Linked DNA regions of Homo sapiens: all the other regions are linked to region 1. Evidence: promoter capture Hi-C in human tissues and cell types (Jung and others, 2019). All regions are on one chromosome and are shown on one strand. The core of a region is centred on a gene start or on the middle of the fragment in contact, and the rest is flanking DNA. Distances in the headings are between cores, read along the strand shown. Region 1 holds the start of ERC1 (ELKS/RAB6-interacting/CAST family member 1). Region 2 overlaps B4GALNT3 (beta-1,4-N-acetyl-galactosaminyltransferase 3). Region 3 has its middle 39 kb from the start of FBXL14. Region 4 has its middle 39 kb from the start of LINC00942.

Evidence for each region. Contacts are between HindIII fragments. The study calls those that stand out against the background at their distance.
Region 2: a contact is called between a fragment that was not itself captured here and the fragment with the promoter of ERC1 in region 1, in 2 of the 25 tissues and cell types used here (IMR-90 fibroblasts and lymphoblastoid cells).
Region 3: a fragment that was not itself captured here is called in contact with the fragment with the promoter of ERC1 in region 1 in 1 of the 25 tissues and cell types used here (IMR-90 fibroblasts).
Region 4: a fragment that was not itself captured here is called in contact with the fragment with the promoter of ERC1 in region 1 in 1 of the 25 tissues and cell types used here (dorsolateral prefrontal cortex).

Annotation. Positions count from the first base shown.
Region 1 is chr12:989,969-992,669 of GRCh38, reverse strand. It overlaps ERC1 (ELKS/RAB6-interacting/CAST family member 1), which reads right to left and starts at 1,447. Exons shown (of 19, transcript NM_178040.4): 1 at 1,348-1,447. It also overlaps a transcript of RAD52 not described here. RefSeq lists silencers at 633-927, 1,133-1,642, 1,663-1,772, 2,183-2,232 and enhancers at 931-1,492, 2,054-2,616. The HindIII fragment of the contact is 12,512 bases long and covers 1-2,701 here.
Region 2 is chr12:476,636-479,335 of GRCh38, reverse strand. The region is part of intron 1 of B4GALNT3 (beta-1,4-N-acetyl-galactosaminyltransferase 3); the gene reads right to left. It overlaps LOC124902853 (a long non-coding RNA gene), which reads right to left. Exons shown (of 2, transcript XR_007063151.1): 2 at 1,711-1,999. Among named protein-coding and RNA genes, the nearest start is that of B4GALNT3, 18 kb to the right of the region's middle. The HindIII fragment of the contact is 4,682 bases long and covers 1-2,700 here.
Region 3 is chr12:1,554,044-1,556,985 of GRCh38, reverse strand. No RefSeq gene overlaps it. Among named protein-coding and RNA genes, the nearest start is that of FBXL14, 39 kb to the left of the region's middle. RefSeq lists enhancers at 2,149-2,248, 2,529-2,588, 2,649-2,718. The HindIII fragment of the contact is 4,184 bases long and covers 1-2,942 here.
Region 4 is chr12:1,538,154-1,540,853 of GRCh38, reverse strand. No RefSeq gene overlaps it. Among named protein-coding and RNA genes, the nearest start is that of LINC00942, 39 kb to the right of the region's middle. The HindIII fragment of the contact is 3,970 bases long and covers 1-2,700 here.

The sequences.
Region 1 (2,701 bases), core at 198-2,697:
GATGTGAAGAACATTGAACACTGCTTACTCTAATATTTCCATACAAAGTGACACACCTGCCCCCAAAATGTTTTTAAAGCACTTGACTCCAAGAACATTTCTCAGAAATTGAGGAGCCTACCAAAAAAAAAGAGTTCCATTTCATTTTAAAGTGTTTTAATAAAGACTGCAAGAAACATAACTGCAAATGAGAAATAAAATTTCAACAATTTAGCACTGAACACAAAATGTCTAAAAGTCAAGGTGTACTGAGCAAGCAACACGCTATAAAAGACGGTTGTACTTTAAAACATTTAAGCATTTTTCATATAATTAGCTCCAACAGAACTATTCCAATTGTTCACTTTATCCACCCAAAGCAGTCAACCACAACCACCTGCAACTATTATTCAGCAATGTGCCTTCCAAAGCAACCACCTGAGTTTGGGGCCTTCTCTCAAGGGGCCAGGATAAAGCCTGTAAAAGGGTGGTATAAAGAGATCTTTTAGGCATTGGGGGGAAAAAAAACTGGAAGACACCACCTTGAAGGAGCTAAGCGTAATGCGACCCAAATGGTGGCTGCCGGAACGAAGTTGTCTAAACCGAAGATCTCCCTCTTCTTCGGTGTAAAACTTTCAGATACATCCACGCTCACAATTTACCTGAGCCAAAGTAAGGGGATTCTCTTCCCTCTCCGACCCCCCACCCACCCCGCCAGAAGAAAAAGAATCGAACCCTAAAGTAGAAACGTGAGATCTAGTGCAATAAAATAGGTTCTGCAACTGCCTCAAAGGCAACATGCACAGCTCATCGTCCTTTTGAAATACACTTCATCTTTTATCTCACCATTTCATCGAAAAGAAAAGAATCATCTTCAGCATTTTACATCACTCACCTAACCCAAAGATCCACCCTGACCGCACCCCAACCTCATGGCTCCCCAATTTCTCCGTCTCCCCACTACCTCGTCCGCGGCTTCACTAGTCCTAAGCCTCCCCCCCTCCGCTCCCCAAGTGCCCAGAGCCCCAGTCCCCACTCCCCCACCTCCCGCCCCAGGATCCCCACATCTACCGCCTCGGCTCCCGCCCGATCCCGGAGCCCGGCTGGGTGGAGCCCGCGGGTGGGCGCCGGTGGTCTGGGTGGGGCCCGCCCCTCCCCACCCCCCGGGCTGCCGAGGAGGGGGAGGGGGTCGCGAAGCCTCACCTACAGCTCCGCCCCTCCCCGGGGGCGCGTTGCCCTGCCCAGCCCAGCCCGGGCCGTGAGCAAGAAGCTGGGTAGGAAAGGCGAAAGCCTCAGCACTAGCGACAGGGGGGAAGCTCTGGGTCCCGCGCGACTTCCGCGCTGTCGCCGCCGCCGCGGCCGTCTCACCGTCCTCAGGGCTGCCGCTACTGCTGCTGCTGCCGCCCAGGCACCGCCGCCGCCGCCACTACCGCCGCCGCCGCCGCCACAGCACGGCCCAGGCGCCCGCGACGTCACCGCGCCCCGCCCCCTGCGCGAGACACCTAGCCCCGCCCCCAGCCCCGCCGCGGGGCGCAGCGCGCCTCCCCGGGCTCCCGGCTCGGCTGCCTCCCTTTCCCTCAGCCTCCCGGGAGCGTGACGCGGCGGCCCGGGGGCCTCCGGGCGCCTTCCGGGGCACGCGGGTGAGGAACTGGGAAGCGGGGGAAATCGGCGCCACGGCGGTCGATTAGCACCGAAACAGAGTGATGGGCGCGGAGCGTCCCTGCACACACACACACACTCACACACACACACACACGACCCCTGCGGCCACGGGAGGGGAGAGCCGGGGTCGGCTCCGCGAGCGCAGGGTGGCGCTTGTCTCCTCCTGCTTGCCGTAGGAAGTGGACGCTGGAAGCCCGAGGAGCCGCTTCGTGTCTTCCCAAACCTAAGCGGCGCCCCACCCCCTACTTCTCGTGGCCCGTTACGCCCGGGGCAGCCAAGCGCCGCGGGAGCAGCGCCGGGATCGACCCTGGCTGCTGGGGGGACGCTTTGTCCCAAGAAAGCTGGTTTTTTGCCCCTTAGCTTCGTGGAACGCGGCCGCGAAATTAGTGGTCTTCTGACCTGAGACTCGCGGGGCTGCGCACACGGGCATCGCCGAGGACCCCAGCAATGGACGTCGTGTCTGTGGTGATCCCGCCAGGACGCGGGGAGCGTGGGCGGAAATTAGTGTCCACGTTCCGACCCTGCGCTGTGCCAAACGCTGCTTCGGGAGCTGTTTATTTAGCCTCCGACAGCTAAGCGAATCGGCGGGCGGCTGGGGCCTGGTGCAACCCGATTTTCTCGTGCAGACTCGCAGCCGGCTTTGGTTTTGTTTTTTGTTTTTTGTTTTTTTTTTGGAGCCATGCAGAGGGTAGCTACAGCCATTAATTTAAGGATGTAGATAAGCTATCTCTAAACCAAGAAAGTAAGAATGGTGTGAATTATATTTATTCCCAGCCTTCCAGTGTTTATTAAAATAATTTTCGGTGTCCTTGAGAGGAGTTAAAAGCCATCATTTTACTCCTGCTTACCTCCGCCACCGTAATTAACCACTTTATACTGCCTCATAATCCCATTAACAAATTGCAGTCGCTCCTCAGCCTTCACATTCATTCACTCACCAGTTTCTACTGTTTCATCCTGCCCGGACTCTTAACTGTTCCCTCCCAGGATCGACATGCACTTGGATCATTGCAGTTTCTGGGCCTGCTGTCATCTCCCCCTTCAGTACTTCCCACATATG
Region 2 (2,700 bases), core at 65-2,564, 510 kb after region 1:
CGGTGGCACGTGCTTGTAACCCAGCTACTCTGGCGGCTGAGGTCGGATGATGGCTTGAGCCCAGGAGTTTGACACCAACCTGGGCAACATGGTGAGACCCTGCTTCATTTAAATAATAATAAAAAAAAAGCCACAGCCATGAAACAAAATACCTTCACCAAGAGTCAGGTCACTGCAGAGAGACTCTAGGCTGTCTCCTGTGGCCTGCTGAGCTTCTGAACTCTGCTACATCCCCTACCTGGAGCTGAGTCAGAAGCCTTGATTCCTTCAGGACTTAATAGGTTTGTCTGTGCCAGCTTCCTCTTGCCTTAGTTTCCCCTCTCTATAAAGGAGGCTGTAACCTCTGTCTTCCCAGCGAACTCCAGGATTCATCACGCTAGGTGGGTGTCATTTTCCACTTCCATTGTCCATAAGGACACCTTCCCAGATGGGTGGAAAAGGACCAAACTTCCTTCAGGGAGAAGAGCAGTAGCAACCTCTGATCCTGAAGGTAACCACAGCTGTGACTTCCCAGGAGAAAGGTTCTATGTAAAAACAGGGTACTGTTGTTTGCCTGCCCTTCCACCCCTTCCTTCCCAAGATTGGTTCGTGAAAACCCTGCCGGCTGGAGAAAGTGTTCACCACCCTGGAACTTTCCCAACCTTCTTAGAGATACAAAGGATCAGAAAAAGATAGAAAAACCCTTTCTTAAGGATTTTTTTTCCTGTTGAAAAAGCTGCTAGAAGAATCATCACTGAAAATATCACAACCAATTTCTATATCCCAGAAACTGAACTTCCCTATTCTTTTTTGTATTAACAAGTACCTTGGGTAGTTTTTGCCCATTTCTTTTTCTCAAAATGGTAAATGTTGACTTCCAATTTGATAGCTCTTGCTTCAATCAATAAATACTTCCCTAAAACAGACAGGTGGTATTTCCTAAGCAACCTAATTAAAGCTTTACTACTGGAGAATTTTCTTTATGCAAATATTTTTTCAATTTTCATGCATCAAAGCAAAATTGAATTCTCATTCAACAAGCTAAATCAGGCTTGAATATTTTTTTTTTTTTTACCTCCTCTAATTTTTTTTTTTTTTTTTTTTTTAAAGACAGAGTGTCACTCTGCCACCCAGGCTGGAGTGCAGTAGTGCGAACACAGCTCACTGCAGCCTTGATCTCCTGGGCTCATGCGATCCTCCCACCTCAGCCTCCCAAGTAGCTGGGACTACAGGGTTGGGCCACCATGCCTGGCTAACTTTTAAATTTTTTGTAGAGATGGGGTCTTGCCATGTTGCCCAGGCTGCTCTAAAACTCCTAGGTGCAAGCAATATGCCCACAGCAGCCTCTGAAAGTGCCAGGATTGCAGGCATTCTGAACCATTGTGCCCCCTCTATAATCTTCCAAACATGTTCTGAACCTATTTGTTGCTACCTCTCTGCCACTTTTCTTTAATCTGTTACCCATTTCACTTTTTACCCTCACACTGCCAGTAATGGACTTCCATTTGCTAAACAGAACTAGGATTATGAAAATATCTGCCCTCATCAACTTGTATATTTCTACACAGAGAGAAGAATAACGGATAAGACAGCAATGTTTTAAATACATCATGAATCTGTCTACCAAAGGGCTTCATCATTCATGTGTTCCAGGATTCTTCTGATCTAAAATCAACTTCATCTATTCATTATTTCCCATCCCTTCTCGATTCAAGAAAGTGAGAGAGGAAATCATGACTCCATTTGCCTTTTATTTAAGAAGCTGTACACTGGAATGGGTTCCGTTTCTCAGGACGGGAGTGTGCAACAAAGGAACCTGTTGGATGAAGAATGTCGAGCCTTGGCCTTTCTCGTGCAATGTGAAAATTCAATTCAACATCAACAATAACTTCTTTGCAGGTTACTCTCCAATATCAATGTCAATGCAGGGTGTCAGTGCATGGATCACCCCTAAAGGCAGCTGAGTTGGGAACATGCATGATCCACCCCCAACTGAGTGGCAATAACTTCAGCTAGTTCACTGGTAAGAAAAAAATAGATCAATAGACTTGAGGTTGGTCTATATGCAGGCACAATATACTACCAGATTGTTAGGGCAGTTAGAAAAAGAAAGGATCTTCCCTGACCTCGTGAAACTCAGATGTTAAAAGGAGGCATCCTCAGCAAACAAAAAGGGAATGAGCGAAGGCAGAGGGTGAGTGGCATGGTGTGTTGTAAACAATAGTCTAGGCACCAGGAGTCCTATAAACTGCTATATGGGCAGGTTGATTAAAGCTCTCCAGGCTTTCAATTCTTCACTGGTAAAATCAGGAGGCTGGGTAAATAGATAACCTTTTTAAGGGGCAGCTCAAGTCAATTTGTAGTGACTGCCTGGTGAGAAATGTTGAGAAAATTCTGAGGCTGCAGCTGAGCTCGGTAAAAGAATTTCATGTTCTATTGGAGATGTCTGCCATGGGCCTAGAAGAAGAAATGCAGATATAATCCATTTCAGAATTTAAAATCTCTGGACTTCTGCTTTGCTTTTGGTTTTCTTCCATGTCTGCACCCCTGGGGTCCACCCTGTCCTAGGATTCTTTGATATGTGAAAGTCAGCATGCTAAAACCAATCAAAACAGGGACAGAGGGTATTGAAAAGCTGATTAAGTTATAATAAACAATGGCGCCTAACATCTACTGCATGTATCTTCAAATCAACATTCAATTCTGGGCACATACTAGGCG
Region 3 (2,942 bases), core at 226-2,725, 560 kb before region 1:
CAAACTTATAGAATTACAGTGTAGAATGGTGGTTACCAGATACTGGGGGTGAGGGGTGGGGAATGCACAGATGTTGACCAAAGGGTAGAAAGTTCCAGTTAGACAGGAGGAATAATTCTTCAAGATCTATTACCCAGCATGGCAACCACAGTTAATAATAATGTATTATATATCTCAAAATTGCTAAAACAATAGATTTTAAATGCACTCACTACAAAAAAGGATAAGTATGTGAGGTGATAGATGTGTCAGCTTGATATAATCATTCCACAAGGTATACATATATCGAAACATCACATTGTACCCTGTAAATTTACAATTGTTATTTGTCAACTACAAATAAAAATTGAAGTTAAAAAATAAAAAAGTAATATTCTATTGGGGGATAAACAAAATGTTGTATACACATGCAATGGAATATTATTCAGCCTTAAAAAAGGAAGGAAATTCTGATGCATGCTACGACATGGATGAAATATTGCTAAGTTTCATCCATGGGCCAGGCGAGGTGGCTCACGCCTGTAATCCCAGCACTTTGGGAGGCTGAGGCGGGTGGATCACAAGGTCAGGAGATCGAGACCATCCTGACTAACACGGTGAAACCCCGTCTCTACTAAAAATACAAAAAATTAGCCAGGCGTGGGGGCAGGCACCTGTAGTCCCAGCTACTTGGGAGGCTGAGGCAGGAGAATGACGTGAACCCGGGAAGCAGAGCTTGCAGTGAGCCGAGATTGCGCCACTGGACTCCAGCCTGGGCGACAGAGCAAGATTCCGTCTCAAAAAAAAAAAAGTTTCATCCATGGATGAAACATAGATGCTAAGCAAAATAAGCCAGACACAAAAGGACATATTTTATAATTCCACTTCTAAGAGGTATTTATAATAGATAAACTCATAGATAGAAAGTAGGTCCCGATGTGGTGGCTCGCGCCTGTAATCCAGCACTTCGGGAGGCTGAGGTGGGAGGATCACTTGAGCCCAGGAGTTTGAGACCAGCCTGGTCAACATGGTGAGACCCTGTCTATACAAAAAATAAAAACTAAAAAATTAGCAGAGTGTGGTGGCACACACCTGTAGTCCCAGCTACTTAGGAGGCTGAGGTGGGAGGACTGCTTAAGCCCAGAAGTTTGAGCCTGCAGTGAGCTGTGGTTGCACCACTGCACTCCAACTTGGGTAACAGAGCAAGACCCTGTCTCAAAAATAAATACATACATACATACGCAGGAAAGTAGAAGCAGACAGAAAGAAGTGGTTGTCAGGGGCTGGAAGGCAGGAAGGATGGGAAGTTATTGTTTTATGTTAATTAAACAATAGTGTTAATTCTGAACAGAATTTCAGTTGGGGAAGATGGAAAAGTTTTGGAGATGGACGTGGTGATGATTACACAGCAGTGTGAATGTGCCCAATGCCACAGAACTGTACACTTAAAAATGGTTGAAATGGAAAATTTTGTTAAGTACATTTTACCATAAATTTTTAAAAAACAATAATGTTTGTGAACCTATCTGATAATTGAAAAAACTGGTCTTTGTCCGTGAGTCCCTGTTGGAGCATAAAGCTTCTTCTGCTCAGTGAATGAGCAGATACGAGGCAGCATTGAAAGGAATGCATCCCACATTTGACTGCCCAGTTTGATAGCTAGCAGCACCCCAGGGGTCAAAAGACATATGAGGCCGGGTGTGGTGGCTCATGCCTGTAATCCCAGCACTTTGGGAGGCCAAGGCAGGTGGATCACCTGAGGTCAGAAGTTCAAGACCAGCCTGGCCAGCATGGTGAAACCCCATATCTAGTAAAAATACAAAACTTAGCCAGGCGTGATGGTAGGTGCCTGTAATCCCAGCTACTCAGGAGTCTGAAGCAGGAGAATCGCTTGAACCAGAGAGGCGGAGGTTGCAGTGAGCTGAGATCGCACCACTGCATTCCAGCCTGGGTGACAAGAGAGAGACTCCGTCTCAAAAAAAAAAAAAAAAAAAGACATGGGTCCTTTTTGGACTGTGACCTTGTGTAGCAGGTTTTACCCTGAACCATTAGGGATCAATGAAGCTGATAAATTGTTCCCGTGGGTTAAGAACCAATGCCCATCATCAAGGAGAAATAAGGATTCTCCCAACCGGCCCCTTCCCTCCCATTGCCACATAAGGGAAACTTCTACCATTGCCCCCTCAGAAAGAGACCAAACTCAGACTGCAACCCCTGCCCCCCCACCACTCAGGCAGGTGATCTGGAAGGATCGAGGGGCTTTCCCAGCATCTCAGCCTGTCAGAGGCAAGTCAGAATGAGAATCCAACGCCTACTCAGACACCAGAGCCTCCCTGCCACTCTAGTAGCCAGGACGACTGGAACTATTGCCTACCACAGCCCCTGGCTAAAAATACAACCTCCTCTGAGATGGTTTCAGTTATTCAAATGTTTGAGAGCCAGGCAGCACCTGGCCTGGGTACTATACAAACATCTGGCTGAGGGACTGCCAGAAAACCACTGGGCAGCTGGAGGTCGTATGGGAACTGTGCCCCTGCAGCTGCATGGCCCTGTCCACCTCCTGGCACTTCTCCTTCAAGACCTTCCTTCCACTCTTTCTCCTGCCCGATCGCTGGTCTCCTTCGCTCCTCTGCCCCACCTGGCTTCTCTGCTCTGCCCAGGATGGAATCTCTCCTACCATCTCTGTTCCTTTATTCCCTGCCACACCTCTATCTACCTTTCCACTCGACCTTCACCTGGAAGGGTTTTTCCCTCTCTCGCTTGCCAGTTCAGGGGTTTCCTCCAAGTCCTTCTCAAATGCCATTTGTCTCTGAAAGGCTTCCAGGAACCTCCCACATGGGTAGCTCTCCTGCAGCATCTGCTGGCCAGTCAGCCTCACCAGGGAGGACTCATTCATCGCACAAAATTTGCCCACACCTGCTCCAGGCCGAGCCCTTCATGAGGGCAGGGCCACGGGCACAGTG
Region 4 (2,700 bases), core at 114-2,613, 550 kb before region 1:
TTACCGTTGGGTATAAAGCACTTCCCTACACGCCATGTCGCTTGACCCTAGCGGTTCTATGAGATAGGAAGGGGTTACACTGTGACTCCATGTACCAATGAGAAGAGGGAGACTGGCAGTGATGAGCACATTTGCTCAAGATTCTCAGCAATGCAAGGGCAGAAATCCTGGACTGCTGATTCCCAGGTGGCCACGAGCAGCCCAGCAGGCTCAAGCATCAGGGTCCAGGGTCCATGGGACGTCCAGTTTTTGCCTAGAATTTCCTCTCTCAATTTTAACATGGTTAATAGATGTTCAACTTGAAGGTGACAGGAAACAAATATTCTGTTTGGCAAAATACAAAAGTGCATTTCCAAGTGAACACCAAGTTAGGCACCAGGAAATGACAACAGGTCCCCTTAGTAAACAGTGATCAATTACCTTATTTCACCAAACCTAAGATGCTACTGATTCTAGAATGCACCATTATTTTGTACCACCAAGAAAGAAAAGTACTTGTCATCAAACTGTCATACAATATTGATTCTGAGATGCATTCTGACCTCAGATATGTTGAAATGCATCTTAATATCGATGAAACATGGTAATTATGGCTGGATTTCTTGAACCGGGGAGGATAACCTGTTTAGAAGTCACTAGCTCATTAACGTGTCAATATGGCTGAGCAGCAGCAACGCCGAGTGGTGGGATTATCAGTGAGGAGAGAGGAGCCCAGACAAGGAGGACATCACTCCTGCCATCCAGGAACCCACCTCTTGGTTGGGAGGACTGTCCAGGAAAAGTCCAAGAGCCTGGAGCTGCAGACCTCTCAACAGGTCTTCGGTAAAAGCAGCTGTCATGGAAGTGAATTCTCAGGTCTCCTTTGTCTCCTCAATCATCAAAATAAACCAAATTATAAAACACTCTGATCTTCTGCCTAAATTCCGACAAGGTATTTCAGAATCTAGGTGTCAATTTCTTGACACTTTTACTTTTTTTCAATGAAGTGTTAAAGTGGGACCTAACATTGACTAAGTACATGATACATGTTAGGCATTGCCCTAATTCACAAAATTATCACATTTCATTCTCAAAAATGACCTTAGGAGTTGGGCATTATTATCCCTGTTTAAACAGTGAAGAAACTGGAGTTCAGAAAACCTAAATGGGCAAGGCAAGCCAATTAGGCTTGAACAGCTGAGTTAGTTTAAACCGAAGTCCCCCTGAGCCTCAAGGCCATGCGCTTTCCACCGGACAGGACGGAAAGCACGGGCTCGCAAAGACTTGTAAAAGCTTGAAAATCACCGCCAGACTAGCCAAGGAAGGCTGATACCCCAACTACACAGTAAATACCAAAACCTCTTCTGCTACAGGACACCTCGTTCAACTTGAGGACCTGTTTAATCAGCAGGGTGGCCGTTCATGGGTGAAGAGGGTAGCGGCATGGTCCACCTGGGAGCAGCGGGAGAGATGGCCTTGTGAGGGTGGGCCCAGGGACAAACAGCTAGTGAGAAAGCTGCTGCCATAATTCACATCAGCTCCCCAACGGCCTGCCCTCGGCAGTAGCATGGAAATAGGATGTAAAACGGATAATAAATCCACAGGATTTAGGAGAAACAAAAACAAGGGAAGACTGTCAGGAAAAAAACAGAGGCATTTTGGAACAGCGGTCGTCTCCCAGGGTGACTCTGCTCCCTCCCGCTCTCCCCACGGGACATTTGGCAATGTCCAGAGACATTTTTGGTTGTCATCCTTCGGAGTGGGGTGCTACTGGCATCGTGTGGGTAGGGGCCAGGTGTGTTCTCAGACATCCTACAATACATGGAGCAGCCCTCTTCAACAAAGAATTATTGGGTCCAAAATATCCATGGTGTCGGGGCTGAGAAACCTGACTCTTGAACAACCTTAAGGAAACAAAAGTGGTGAAGACATTGCCCTTACCCAGCAGCTCATCAACCAAAAAGGCAAAGAAATCACAGGGACTGGCTCTGCATGGACTCCAGGTGCTCACCAGGAAACAGATCACGCACTTGTCCAGCCATCCCTGTGATCTACCACTGTGTGCACCCGATCCACGCCAGGCTCAAGAGAGGAGCTGGAGAGGAGGAGAACAGGCACGGTGCTGGCCCTCAAGGTGTCACCACCTGTCCGGAGGAGACGCGCATGTGTGGAAACACACACCTGAGCCTGTAAATACATGTGTGCTTGTACACACAGGCAGAAAAAACCGAAAAGGAATGCACCAAAATCCTACCAATGATAACTCAAAATCATCATTTTCTTCATATTTTCAATGAAAATATGAATGAATTAAAAAATGAAAAAAAGTCAATGTTTTTCAGTGAACATGTTATACTTTCATCAGTTCTGATAAAACAGGCATATCCCAGGGCCACATGTTCTCGCCAGCTGCCCCACCTCTATGGTATGGCAAAGGAGGCCAAGATGGGGAGGGAGCAACGGAGCAGAGGAAGAACCTACGATTTTGTTTGCTTGTTTTCAGACAAGGTCTCCCTCTGTCACCCAGGCTGGAGTGCAGCAGCACAGTCATAGCTCACTGCAGCCTCAACCTCCCAGGGTCAAGGGATGCTCCCACCTCAGCCTCCCAAGTAGCTGGGACTACAGGTGTTCACCACCACACCCAGATACTTTTTAAAATTTTTTGTAGAGATGGGTGTCTTGTTATGTTGCTCAGGCTGGTCTAGAACTCCTGGCCTCAAG